Linked DNA regions of Homo sapiens: region 2 is linked to region 1. The links are contacts of gene promoters, found by promoter capture Hi-C in human tissues and cell types (Jung and others, 2019). All regions are on one chromosome and are shown on one strand. Each heading gives the region's core, a stretch centred on a gene start or on the middle of the fragment in contact. The rest is flanking DNA. Distances are from core to core; before and after follow the strand shown.

Region 1 (7,308 bases), core at 3,531-6,030:
ATTTCAATAACCTGCACCTGAAAGATTGTTGAGTCAACAATAAAATCAACATGGAAACTAAAAAAAATTATTTAAACTGAATGAAAATAGTGACACAGCCTATCAAAACCACTGGGATACAGCAAAAGCAGTGCTAAGAGGAAAGTTCATACCATTAAATGCCTACATCAAATAGTCTGAAAGAGCACAAATAGACAATCTAAGGTCACACCTCCCTGAACTGCAGAAACAAAAACAATCCAAACCCAAGCCCAGAAGAAGATCAGAGGAGAACTAAATAAAATTGAAATAAACACAAAAATGCAAAAGATAAATGAAACAAAAAGCTGATCTTTGAAAAGATAAATAAAATTGGTAGACAATTAGTGAGATTAACCAATCAAAGAAAAGATTTAAATAAGCTCAATTAGAAATGAAACAGGTGACCGGGCGTGGTGGCTCATGCCTGTAATCCCAGCACTTTGGGAGGCTGAAGTGGGGGCATCATGAGGTCAGGAGTTCAAGATCAGCCTGACCAACATGGTGAAACCCCATTGCTACTAAAAATACAAAAATCAGCCCAGTGTGGTGGCATGTGCCTGTAATCTCAGCTACTCAGGAGGCTGAGGCAGGAGAATCGCTTGAACCCGGGAAGCAGAGGTTTCAGTGAGCCCAGATTGCACCAGTGCACTCTAGCCTGCACAACAGAGTGAGACTCCATCAAAAAAAAAAAAAAAAAGAAAAGAAAAGAAAAGGAAAGAAAGAAGTGAAACAGGCAATAATAAAACTGGTACCACAGAAACACAAAAGGTTATTCAAGGCTACTATGAACAGCTTTATACACATAAACTAAAAGACCTAGAGGAGATGGATAAATTTCTGGAAATATATAAACCTCCAAGATTAGATGAGGAAAATATAGAATCTCTGAACAGACCAAAAATAAGCAGCAAGATTAAAATGGTAATTTAAAAAATGCCGACAAAAAAAAAGTCCAGGACCAGACAGATTCACAGCTGAATTCTATCAGACATTCAAAGAAGAATTAGTACCAATCCTATTGACTATTCCAAAAGATAAAGGAGGAATCTTCCCTAAATCATTCTATGAAGCCACTATCACCTCAATACCAAAAGCAGAGAAGGACATAACAAAAAAAGAAAAGTACAGACCAATATCCTTGATGAACATAGATGCAAAAATCATCAACAAAATACTAGCAAACTAAATACAATGGCATATCAAAAAGATAATCCACCACGTTCAAGTGGGTTTCATACCAGGGATGCAGGAATGGTTTAACATACCTAAGTCAATCAATGTGATATACCCCACATAAACAGAATTAAACAGAAAAATCACATGATCATCTAGATAGACAAGAAAAAGCATTTGACAAAATCCAGCATGCATTTACGATTAAAATCCTCAGCAAAATCGGTGTAGAAGGGACATACCATAAGATAATCAAAGCCAACTGTGAGAAATCGACAGCCAATAATAAACTTAATAGGGAAAAGTTGAAAGCATTTTGCATGAGAAATGGAATAAGACAAGGATGTCCGCTCTCACCACTCCTATTCAACATAGTACTGGAAGTCCTAACTAGAGCAATAATACCAGAGAAAGAAAAAAAGGGCATCCAAATTGGTAAAGAGGAAGGAAAACTGTCACTGTTTGTTGATGATATAATCATATACCTAGAAAACCCTCAAGGCTCATCCAAAAAGCTCCTAGAACTGGTAAATGAATTCAGCAAAGTTTCAGGATACAAAATTAATGCACACAAACCAGTAGCTCTGCTATAAACCAACAGTGACCAAGATGAGAATCAAATCAAGAACTCAACCCCTTTTACAATAGCTGCAAACAAAAACAAAAACTAAAACTAAGGAATATACCTAACCAAGGACATGAAAGACCTCTACAAGAAAAACTACAAAACACTGCTGAAAGAAATCATTGATGACACAAACAAATGGAAACACCTCCCTTGCACATGGGTGGGTAGAATCAATAGTGTGAAAATGACCATACTGCCAAAGGCAATCTACAAATTCAATACAATTCCCATCAAATTGCCACCATCATTCTTCACAAAACTAGAAGAAACAATCCTAAAATTCATATGGAATCAAAATGGAGCCTGCACAGCCAAAGCAAAACTAAGCAAAAAGAACAAATCTGGAAATATCACATTACCCAACTTCAGATTGTACTATAAAGTCATTATCATGAAAACAGCATGGTACTGGTATAAAAATAGGCACATGGACAAACCAAATAGAATAGAGAACCCAGAAATAATGTCAAATATTTACAGCAAACTGGTTTTCCACAAAGCAAACAAAAACATAAAGTGGGGAAAGGACAACCTATTCAACAAATGCTGCTGGGATAATTGGCGCGCCACATGTAGGATAATGAAACGGAATCCTCATCTCTCACCTTATACAAAAATAAATTCAAGGCCAATCAAAGACTTACGTCTAAAACCTGAAACCATAAAGATTCTAGAAGATAACATCGGGAACACCCTTCTAGATATTGGCTTAGGCAAAGACTTCATGATCGAGAACCCAAAAGAAAATGCAAAAAAAAAAAAAAAAAAGAGGTGCGGGGATAAAAGATAAGACTAAATTAAACTAAAAAACTTCTGCAAAGCAAAAGAAATAATCAACAGAGTTAACAGACAACCCAGAGAGTGGGAGAAAATCTTCTCAATCTATACATCTGGCAATGGAATAATATCCAGAATCTACAAAGAACTCAAACAAATTAGCAAGAAGAAAACAAACAATCCCATCAAACTGGGATTGGGCTAAGGGACTTGAATAGACAGTTCTCAAGGAGATATACAAACGGCCAAAAAGCATAAGGAAAAATGCTGAACATCACTAATTATCAGGGAAATACAAATCAAAACCACAGTGCAATACAAACTCACTCCTGCAAGAATGGCCATAATCAAAAAATCAAACAATAATAGATGTTGACATGGATGTGGTGAAAAGGGAACCCTTTTACACTGTTGATGGGAATGTGAACTATTACAACACTAGGAAAAACAGTGTGAAGATTCTTTAAACAACTAAAAGTAGATTTACCATTTGATCCAGCAATACCACTACAAGGTATATACTCAGAAGAAAAGAAGTCATTATACAAAAAAGGTACTTACATGTTGCATGTTTATATCAACACAATTTGCAATTGCAAATAGATGGAATCAGCCTAAATGATCATCAGTCAATGAGTGGATAAATAAAAGGTGGTATATACATACCATGGGATACTATTCTTCCATAAAAATGAATTAATTAATAGCATTTGCAGCAACCTGGTTGGAATTGGAGACTATTATACAAAGTGAAGTCACACAGGCATGGAAATCCAAACATCGTATATTCTCACTCATATGTGCCAGCTAAGCTATGAAACACCAAGGCATAAAAATGATACACTGGACTTGGGGACTTGGAAGAAATGTTGGGGACTGGAGAGGGCTAAAAGACTACACATTAGGTACAGCGAACACTGCTTGGTTGATCGCTGCACTAAAATCTCAGAAATCACCATTAAAGAACTTATTAATGTAACCAAACACTATGTGTTTCCCAAAATGATAATGAAATTTAAAAATAAAAATGGAATGTCTTTATTGAAAATGCCTTATATTGTAGTCATAACTGAATTGAATATTAAAAAATCTAAAATAGTTTATCTGAAATAAATTATACTGGTACCCATCAATATGTTGAGCAATGCACACAATTAGTGATATTTTTAGGACTTAATAGAAAAAGAGAGACAATAAAAAGAAGACGTTAGCAGACAGCAAAACATGAAATTTATGAGGTAACTCAATCTCCAGACTTGCCCTTTCCTAAGATTTTCATTAATGCTCTGGTCACTTCCTTGTTGCGGAGGCTATAAATGAGAGGATTCAGCATGGGAGTGACGATGGTGTAGAATACAGACACCATCTTGTCCTGCATAGGAGAATGATGAGATGTGGGCTGAATGCACATGAACAAACCTGCTCCATAGTACATTCCCACCACCATGAGGTGAGAGGAACAAGTAGTAAAAGCTTTGCGACGTCCCTCTCCAGATCCCATGTGAATGACAGCCAGAATAACTCGAGCATAGGAAGTGATGATGATTGCAACAGGGAAAACAAGCATTACTATACAGCAGATGAAAATAACCTCTTCAAATATTGATGTGTCATTGCATGAGAGGATTAGTAGGGAAGGGAAGTCACAGCAGAAGTGGGCTATTTCCCGAGACCCACAGTAGGAGAAGGAAAATGTCGCTACAGCATCAATGATTCCATCTGTAGAGCCCAGGATCCAGGAGAAGGCAGTCATAAGTCCACAAATTTTGGGTCTCATGAGATTGGTGTATCTTAGAGGGTGGCAAATGGCAGTGTAGCGGTCATAAGACATAACAGCCAACAGAAAGCATTCGGAGCCAAGCAATGATATATAGAAGAAAATTTGTGTGGCACAGCCAGCCATAGAAATGGACTTGCTGCCAGACAAGTAGTTGAAGGCCATCTTGGGTACAGTGGTGCAGATGAGCATGAGGTCCATGAGGGACAGTTGGCTGAGGAGGAAGTACATGGGGGTGTGGAGCTGGGTATCCAGGTAGATGAGGAGAACCATGATGGAGTTTCCCATGAAGGCCACTGAAAAGATGGCCAGGACCAGAAAGAAGAGGAAGGTGTGGGTGGGGCTATGATTGAAGATTCCCAGGAGGAGGAAGTCAGAGTTGAAGGTCTGATTCTCCCATGCCATGATGAATATGCCTGTTACCTAGCACCGCAAAAACAGTTCATTAATTTGATAAACATTTACCCAGTGCCTTATAAAGCATGTGATTATGGTAAATTCTGTAGTTTGGTGATCAATACAGGATGGCCAGAATTATAAAACTCAAAGTTTAAGAATTATGGAATCATAAAGAAATATGTTCTCTCAGCAGTGTCTCACTTATAAAATTATGGAGCTTGTCCTAACTTTTCTTCTAAGCATTCTTTTTCTCCATTGAAAAATTACAATAACAATATCTACTACATGATCAATGGAGTTTTTCCAAAAAGAATATGTCTCCAAAGCAAACAGTTCCTAAAACATCAGAAGCCTGTTACAGGTAAATTGATAGAGAAATTCAGGTTCAGTCACCATGTGACCAACACAATACTAGAAATGGACAATAAATTTGTGCCTTTATTCACATGATAGTAGGCATTTTTCCTACCAGAGTTAAGAAAATGTGTATGTTTACCTATTACTTTACAGTTTAAAGTATTTTATCTATACTTTATAGTAAGTTTTCTATACAGTAAGTGGATTCACTGAAAAGATTTTCAATTATACAAATCTAAGACATATGCTCTTTTTTCTATAGCCCAGTGTGATGCATTGAATTATGTTTCTTCCCCAAAAGATAGCAAGTGAGCTTGTTTAGAAATACATAAAGGGTATAATTAGTTAAGGTGAGGTCAAGTTGGAGCAGAGTGGGTCTCTCTAATTCAATATGACTCATGTTCTGATAAGTGGGTGGCCATGTGAAGACTGAGACACTGAGGATACCATGTGATAGGGGAGGCAGGGATTGGAGTGGTGCATCTACAAATCAAGAAATGCCAAAAACTGTTAGTTATAACAGGAACCTGGGAGAGAGGAATGGGACAGATTCATCCTCTTAGAGCCCTCAGAAGTGTCCAACCCTGCTGACAACTTGATTTCAGATTTCTAGACTCCAAAACTATGAGAGAATAAATTTCTATTGTTTTAGGTAACCTGTTTGTGATTTCTCTGTACTGGCATTCGTAGGAAATTAATACATCCAATATATCCTATAGAAAATAAGTAGATATAAAAACAGAAATTAAGAAAAGCATGAGATTCATCCTTTCAACAACATTTATGAAGCCTGGCTATGTGTTGATCACTGGGGCTACCACAGTGACCAGAATAAAGAAAGCCCGTGTCCATACAGGTCATAGTGAGTGTGATCAGATGATGATTATAAAACACTTTATGTCATAAGAGGATAAACATTTTGGAGAAAAGTAAGTCAAAGAAGGGTGTTAGAAATGCACTAGTATGTTCACCTTTGAATAAAGTAGTCAAGGGAAACCTCACACATCTAATGGCTTTTGGCAAAGACTCTGAGCAAGTGAGAAAGACACCAGATCACAGGAAAGGGTTGTACGTATATAAATTCCACAAAATGAAATGCAATAAATAGAACATACACAGAGAAAATAGAAATGTGTGGAAGATTTTGGGAAAACATAGGGTTTTCTAATTTAGAGTTATGTTTCTTGTATGTTGTGGCATTAAGTTTTTATTGTGTGAGATAATAATAAATGTATGAGCAAAGCCAATATGTGAAGGGAGATTATTCCAGGCAGTAAAAAATGATGTCATAAACAGAAAGACAAGCCTGGTGAGTAGACTCACTTGACAGAAATGTACTTTTTTCATTTATTCATGCATCACATTTTAATGAAGAGACTGAAAACAACAACATCAATGAAAGGTGAAAAATCTAGGAGCAGCAAGGAAGTTAGAAGAAATCTGCAGAAGAGAAGGAATCTGGAATTTGTCCTCATGGGTTGAAATACAATTTTTTCAATAGGGAGGTAGTAAAGTATACCTTTTTGAGTTTTATTTATTTATATTAATTGTGAATAATATTGGTAAGAAAGAAAAAAAATACTCGAGCAGAGTTTTAAGTTTTCATTCAAGAACAACCTAACAAAACATGCCTCTTCAGTGCAGGGAAGACAGAGAAGGAATCTCCATAAGAGACTCTCATGAGATTAGAATGGCAATCTCTAAAATAAAAACAAATCATTTTTGTCAATCAGCATGAAGAGAGAAACAGGCTTCAACCTCCTCCCTTTCTGGTTTTAAAACAAATGGTTATCAAGAAGTTGGATAAACCTGATCAGTGGTAGCTCAGATCCAGGTCCAGTCAATGTCTTGAGAATGAGAAATGGGCATCTCTGGGATCTTCAGTGTTGGGGGTTTCCTACCAAAGGGTTCCCTTGTGTTGTCCTCAAGAGGAGGTGGGCTTTTAAGGTCAATCAGGGGAAAAGACGTTGTATTGCCTCAATAATTTCCAGTGCTTATGAGCTGAATTCGCTTCAAGAAAATAACTCATCTCAACTTACTTTATGGAACCACCTATTTCGACCATCATACTGTAGCTGTCCCAGTTTTCTTGATCTTGTCAACTGTTACAATACACAATTTATCCAAACTAAACTGTATTACCTCAAATTTCCACCATAATTTTTCTTTAACTCAG
Region 2 (7,308 bases), core at 2,676-5,175, 190 kb before region 1:
TCAGCGTGCCTCCGCAACAGCACAGAGTCTGTTTCCAGGAAGCTGGTGACCAGGGCTGAGAACTTGTTCCAGAACACGAGCCTCTCTGTTGAGAAAGCAAGCAGACTCACAGGTTTTCTGTGTCTCAGGGAGCCTACAGCAGGAATCCAGTTCCTTCAAAGGGTCTGTGGATTCTCTCAGCTTTCCCGGTATGTTTCTGCAGTAGTTCTTGGAGCAAAAGTTCACAATGTTTGAGTTTCCAGATGCTACTCTGTCCATTTGAGTGGGAGCTGCAAGCTAGTCCTGCCTCTTATCCACCATCTTAATTCTTATCAGCACATTAAAGTTTTATGCATTTTCAGTATCATAAAATTTGTGCTATGCATCCAGGTAGCATACACTTCTTCTTTTCCCAATGTATAAACTCAAAATTTTATTGATCCTCTTGAAATCTGCTTTGGAATTAAAGTTAATATACTGGAAGAGGGGCCAAGATGGCCGAATAGAAACAGCTCCCAGTGAGGCCAATGCAGAAGATGGGTGATTTCTGTATTTCCAACTGAGGTCCCCAGTTCATCTCATTGGGACTGGCTAAGTAGTGGGTGTGACCCATAGAGAGTTAGCAGAAGCAGGGTGGGGCATCGTTTCATCCAGGAGGTGCAAAGAGCCAGGGGACCTCCCTCCCCTAGCCAAGCAAAGAGGTGAGGGACTGTGCTGCCAGCCTGGGGTACTACGCTCTTTCCGTGGATTTTTGCAATCCACAGAATAAGATATTTCCTTGTGAGCCTACACTGCCAGGGCCCTGGGTTTCGAACACAAAACGGGGTGGCTGTTGGAGCTGGTGCTGAGTTGCAGGAAATTTTTCAGACTCCAACGGCACCTAGAACTCCAGTGCAACAGGAGAACTGTCCACTCCCCTGGAAAGGGGGCTGAAGCCAGCGAGCCAAGTGGTCTTGGTCTCCGAATCCTACTCCCATTGAGCCCAGCAAGCTAAGAACCACTGGCTTGAAATTCCCACTGACAGCACCGCAGTCTGGAGTCGGCCTGGGACTATCGAGTTTGGTGTTGGTGTGGGTAGGGAAACGAGGAGGTCACCGTTACTGTGGCTTAGTAGGCGGTTTTACCCTGCTGGTGCTAAGGAGAATGGGAGGTTTGTACTGAGCAGAATTCACCACAGCACAGCAAATGAGCTGTGGACAGACTGCTTTTCTAGATTTCTCCTCACAGGGCAGGGCATCTCTGCAGGAAATCCAGAAGCTCCATTCAGGGGCTTACAGACAGAACTGTCATCGTCCTGGGACAGAGCACCTGGAGGGAGGACAGGCTGCAGTCACAGGTTCAGTGGACTTAATCTTTCCTGCCTGCCGGGTCTGAAGAGAGCAGCTGATTCTGACAAGGGGGTTCTCCCAGCACAGTGCTACAGCTCTGCTAAGGGACAGATGGCCTTCTCAAGCAGGTCCTGACCAGATGCCTCCTGACTGGGAGAGACCTCCCAATAGGGGTCGACAGACACCTCATACAGGAGAGCTCTGGCTGGCAACAAGCTGGTGCTCCTCTGGGACGAAGCTTTGAGGAAGCAGCAGGCAGCAACCTTTGCTGTTTTATGGCCTCCACTGGTGATACCCAGGCCAACAGGGCCTGGAATGGGCCCCCAGCAAACTATAGCAGACCTCCAGAAGTGGGGCCTGGCTTAGAAGAAAAACTAACAGAAAGCAACAACAATCAAAACATCAACAAAAATACCCACCCAAAAAACCGCTTCCAAAGATCATCAGCTTCAAAGATCAAAAGTAGGTAAATCCATGAAAATGAGCAAAAAACCAGTGCAAAACACTAAAATTTCCAGGAGACAGAATGTCTCTTCTCCTCCAAATGATTGCAGTACCTTTCCAGGAAGGGTGCAGAACTGGATGGAAAATGAGATGGATGAATTGACGAAGTAGTCTTCAGAAGGTGGGTAATAACAAACTCCGTTGAGCTAAAGGAGCATGTTCTAACCCAAAGTAAAGAAGCTAAGAACCTGGATAAAAAGTTACTGTAGCTGCTTACTAAAATAACCAGTTTAGAGAGGAACAAAAATGACAAGATGGAGCTGAAAAACACAGCATGAGAACTTCCTGAAGCACACACAGGTATCAATAGCTGAATTGATCAAACAGAAGAAAGGACATCAGAGAATGAAGATCAACTTACTGAAATAAGGCATGTAGACAAGATTAGATATCAAGCAGACAAAAGGATATCAGAGTTTGAAGGCCATCCTGCTGACATAAAGCATGCAGACAAGATTAGAGAAAAAAGAATAAAAAGAAGCAAACAAAACCTGTGAGAAATATGGGATAATGCATAAACACAAGACATTCAGAATGGCACCAAGTTGGAAAACACACTTCAGGATATCATCCGGGAGAACTTACCCCAACCTAGAAAGACAGGCCAACATTCAAATTCAGGAAATGCAGACAACACCACTGAGATATTTCATGAGTAGATCAACCCCAAGATGCATAATCAACAGATTCTCCAAGGTTGAAATGAAGGAAAAACTATTAAGGGCAGCCAGAGAGAAAGTTCAGGTCACCTACAAAGGGAAGCCCATTAGACTAACAGCAGATATCTCAGCAGAAACCCTACAAGCTAGAAGAGAGTGGGGCAACTATTCAACATACTTAAAGAAAAGAATTTTCAACCCAGAATTTCATACCCAGGCAAACTAAGCTTCATAAGTGAAGGAGAAAGAAAATGCTTTCCACACAAGGAAATGATAAGGAACTTCATCACCACCAGGCCTGCCTTTCAAGAGGTCCCAAAGGAACCACTAAATATGAAAAGGAAAATCTGGTACCAGCCACTGAAGTAACACAGCAAAATATGATGACCAATGATAGTATGAAGAAACTGCATCAACTAGTGTGCAAAATAACCAGCTAGCATCATGATGACGGGATCAAAATCACACATAACAATTTTAGCCTTAAATGTAAATGGGTGAAATCCCCAATTAAAAGACACAGACTGGCAAATTGGATAAAATATGAAGACCCATCAGTGTGCTATATTTAGGAGATCCATCTCATGCGCAAAGACACACAGAGGCTAAAATAAAGCGATAGAGGAGAGTTTACCAAGCAAATGGAAAGCAAAGGAAAGCAGAAGTTGCAATCCTACTCTCTGATAAAGCAGACTTTAAAGCAACAGAGGTCAAAAAAGTAAAACAAGGGCATTAAATGACGGTAAAGGGATCAATTCAACAAGAGAAACTAACTATTCTAAATACAGATGCACCAAATACAGTAGCATCCAGATTCATAAAGCCAGTTATAAGAGACCTACAAGGAAACTTAGACTCCCACACAATAATAGTGGGAGACTTTAACCCCCAACTGTCAATATGAAACAGACCAACAATACAGAAATTTAACACGGATATTCAGGATTTGAACTCTGCTCTGGATCAAGTGGACCTAACAGACGTCTACAGAACTCTCCACCCCAAATCAAAAGAATATACACTATTCTCAGTGCCACGTGGGGCTTATTCTAAAATCAACCATAATTGGAAGTGAAACACTCCTCTGCAAATGCAAAGGAATGGAAATTATAACAAACAAGGGCAACTGTTATAAGTGCCCTTGTCAATGCAATCAAATTAGAACTCAGGATTCAGAAGCTCACTCAAACCGCACAGTTTCATGGATATTGAACAACCCGCCCCTCCTTGACTCCTAGCTAAATAACAAAAGTAATGCAGAAATCAAGAAATTCTTTGTAACCAATGAGAACAAAGAGACAACTTGTCAGAATCACTGGGACATAGCTAAAGTATTGTTAAAAGGGAAATTTATAGCACGAAGTGCCAACATCAGAAAGCTGGAAAGATCTCAAATCAACACCCTGACATCAGAATTAAAAGAACTAGAGAAGAAAGAGCAAACAAATCCAAAAGTTAGCAAAAGACAAGAAATAACTAAGATCAGAGCAGAATTGAAGGAGATAGAGACACAAAAATCCCTTCAAAAAAATCAATGAATCCAGGAGCTAGTTTTTTTGAAAAAAATAACAAAATAGATAGACCACAGGCTAGACTATTGAAGAAAGGAGAGAAGAATCAAATAGACACAATAAAAAATGATAAAGAGGATATCACCAATGGCCCCACAGATATACAAATTACCATCAGAGAATACTATAAACACTTCTATGTAAATAAACTAGAAAACCTAGAAGCAATGGATAAATCCCTGGACACATACATTCTCCCAAGACTAAACCAGGAAGGAGTCAAATCCCTGATTAAACCAATAACAAGTTCTGAAATGGAGGCAGTAATTAATAGCCTACCAACAAAAAAAGCCCAGGACCAGATGTATTCACAGCCAAATTCTACCAGAAGTATAAAGAGAGGTTGGCACTATTTATTCTGAAACTATTCCAAATAATTGAAAATGAGGGGCTCCTCCCTAACTGATTTTATGAGGTCAGCATCATCTTGCTAACACAACATGGCAGAGACAAAACAAAAAAAAGAAAACTTCAAGCCAATATCTCAGATGAACATTGATGTCAAAATCCTCAATAAAATACTAGCAAACTAAATCCAGCAGCACATCAAAAAGCTTATACACCCCAATCGAGCTGGCTTCATCTCTGGGATGCAAGGCTGGTTCAATATATGCAAATCAATAAATGTAACCCATCATATAAACAGAGCCAAAGGCAAAAACCACATGATTCTTTCAATAGATGCAGAAAAGTCCTTTGATAAAATTCAACATTCCTTCATATTAAAAACTCTCAATAAACTAGGTATTGATGAAACATATCTCAAAATTATAAGTGCTATTTGTGACAAAGCCATAGGCAATATTATACTGAATCACAAAAGCTGTAAGCATTCCTGTTGAACACCGGCACAAGACAAGCATGCCCTCTCTCACCATTCCTATTCAATACAGTTTTGGAAGTTCTGGCTAGGGCAATCAGGCAATATATTTTTAAAAAGTATTCAAATAAAAAGAGAGGAAGTCAAATTGCCTTTTTGCAAGTGACATGATTCTATATTTAGACAACTCCATCATCTCAGCCCAAAAACAACTTAAGCTGACAAACAGCTTCAGTAAAATCTTAGGATACAAAATCAATGTGCAAAAATCACAAGCATTCCTATATACCAGCAATAGTCAAGCAGAGAGCCTGATCATGAATTAACTACCATTCTCAATTGCTACAAAGAGAATAAAATACCTAGGAATACAGCTAACAAGGGATGTGAAGGACCTCTCAAGGAGGACTACAAACCACGGCTCAAGGAAATAAGAGCGGACACAAAGAAATGGAAAAACATTCCATTCTTATGGATAGGAAGAATCAATATCATGTAAATGGCCATACTGCCCAAAGTAATTTATAGATTTAATGTTACTCCCTTCAAACTACATTGACATTCTTCACAGAATTAGAAAATACTTCTTTAAATTTTACATGGAATCAAAAAAGAGCCTGTATAGCTAAGAAAATCCTAAACAAAAAGAACAACCTAGAGGCATCATGCTACTTGACTTCAAACTACACTACAAGGCTACGGTAACCAAAACAGCATGGTGCTGGTACCAAAACAGACATATAGGCCAATAGAACAAAAGAGAAAATTCAGAAATAACACCGTATATCTACAGTCATCTAATTTTTGACAAATCTGACAAAAATAAGCAATGGGGAAATTATTCCCTTTTTAATAAATATTGCTGGGAAAACAGGCTAACCATATGCAGAAAACTGAAACTAGATCCCCCTCCTTACACATTATACAAAAATTAAGATAGATTGAAGACTTAAATATAAAACCCAAAAACATAAAATCACTAGAAGAAAACATAAGCAATACCATTCAGGACATAGTCATGGGAAAACACTTCATCACAAAAACACCAAAAGCAATTGCAACAAACCCAAAATTGACAAATCGGATCTAATTAAACTGAAGAGCTTCTGCACAGCCAAATAAACTAGCATCAGAGTGAAGAGGCAACCTACAGAATGGGAGAAAAATTTGCAGTCTACCCATCTCTCACAGTTCTAATATCCAGAATCTATAAGGAATATAAATGTACAAGTCAAAACCAAACAACTTCATCAAAAAGTGGGCAAAGCATATGAACAGACACTTCTCAAAAGAAGACATTTATGCAGGCAACAAACATATGAAAAAGAGCTCATCATCAGTGATTATTAGAGAAATGCAAATCACAACGAGACACCATCTCACGTCAGTCAGAATGGCGATTATTAAAAAGTCAAGAAATGTAATAAAGGAAGGTAACAACCCCATCTTTCAGGTTATAGGAAGAACCATAGGTCTAACTTCTGCTGTCATCTGACCCCACATTATAAAGCCTATTTAAAGTATGAAGTGGGTTATATTGAGTTAGCTATCAAAAAGAGTGAGATTTCATTCTATCTTTGCAAGCAGTTTGGTGAGTTGCCTGTGATGAATATTACATTCTCCTGTAATACTTACTCAATAATTAAATTGTTTTATTTTCTTCTAAATTTATGAAGAGGATTCTTGGGTTTTGAGGAGAGTTTGTTTTTAAGCATATTTCTCTAGCAAAGTACAAAAACTCAAGTTGCACAAGTAAATTTTATGGAGTACTAGGAGGTGAAAATGCTGTAAAAATAAAACAAGATAGGGAAATAAAATTCATTATGTTTTGAAATTTTAAATGGAGTTTTCTGAGAAAGCATGGTTGAGGGGTTGATAGTTGAACACTGCTCACATAGCATGAGATCGAGAGCAGGTAGAGCCCCTAGTCTTAACTCTATAGGAGAGGAGAGGATCAAGTGCAAATAGTAACCTGTGTGTGAGTTAAAGAAAAAAAAAGTCAGTGATGCATGTTGAAGCATAGTAAGGAAGGTTTTATTCAAAAACATTGTGAGACAATATACAGGAATAATTCAGGGTGGTTGCAGAACAATATAAAAATCTAGGAAGAAGTTTTGCATGACTAGCAAAATTCATGCAAAACTCAGTTATTGCTTGTGAAAAGTCAATTATTGCTTTGCTTGAGTTTATAAATTATTCACTAAAAACAGCCTCAGGAAAACAGGACATTCAACAGAGATAAAAGAAAATACATCAACCAGCAACCCTAAAAATGGGCCAACCAGTCCAATAACAACATCTTGAAGGTGTACACAAGGTCACAAAGCATTGACCAAGAAAGCAATAATTAGCTGCCTTTTTAAGACTGTACACATTTTACAATAATGTTTTTATTATTTCCCCTAATTTCTCTTAAAATCTCCTGAACCAGAGGCACAACTCAGAAA

The links. The method cuts DNA at HindIII sites, captures the fragments that hold promoters and counts their contacts. A contact is called where the count stands out against the background at its distance.
Region 2: a fragment that was not itself captured here is called in contact with the fragment with the promoter of OR2M7 in region 1 in 1 of the 25 tissues and cell types used here (neural progenitor cells).

Annotation. Positions count from the first base shown.
Region 1 is chr1:248,319,788-248,327,095 of GRCh38, forward strand. OR2M7 (olfactory receptor family 2 subfamily M member 7) reads right to left here and starts at 4,781. Exons shown (of 1, transcript NM_001004691.1): 1 at 3,843-4,781. The coding sequence starts at 4,781. The coding sequence ends at 3,843. The HindIII fragment of the contact is 10,500 bases long and covers 917-7,308 here.
Region 2 is chr1:248,127,858-248,135,165 of GRCh38, forward strand. No RefSeq gene overlaps it. Among named protein-coding and RNA genes, the nearest start is that of OR2M5, 14 kb to the right of the region's middle. The HindIII fragment of the contact is 6,525 bases long and covers 664-7,188 here.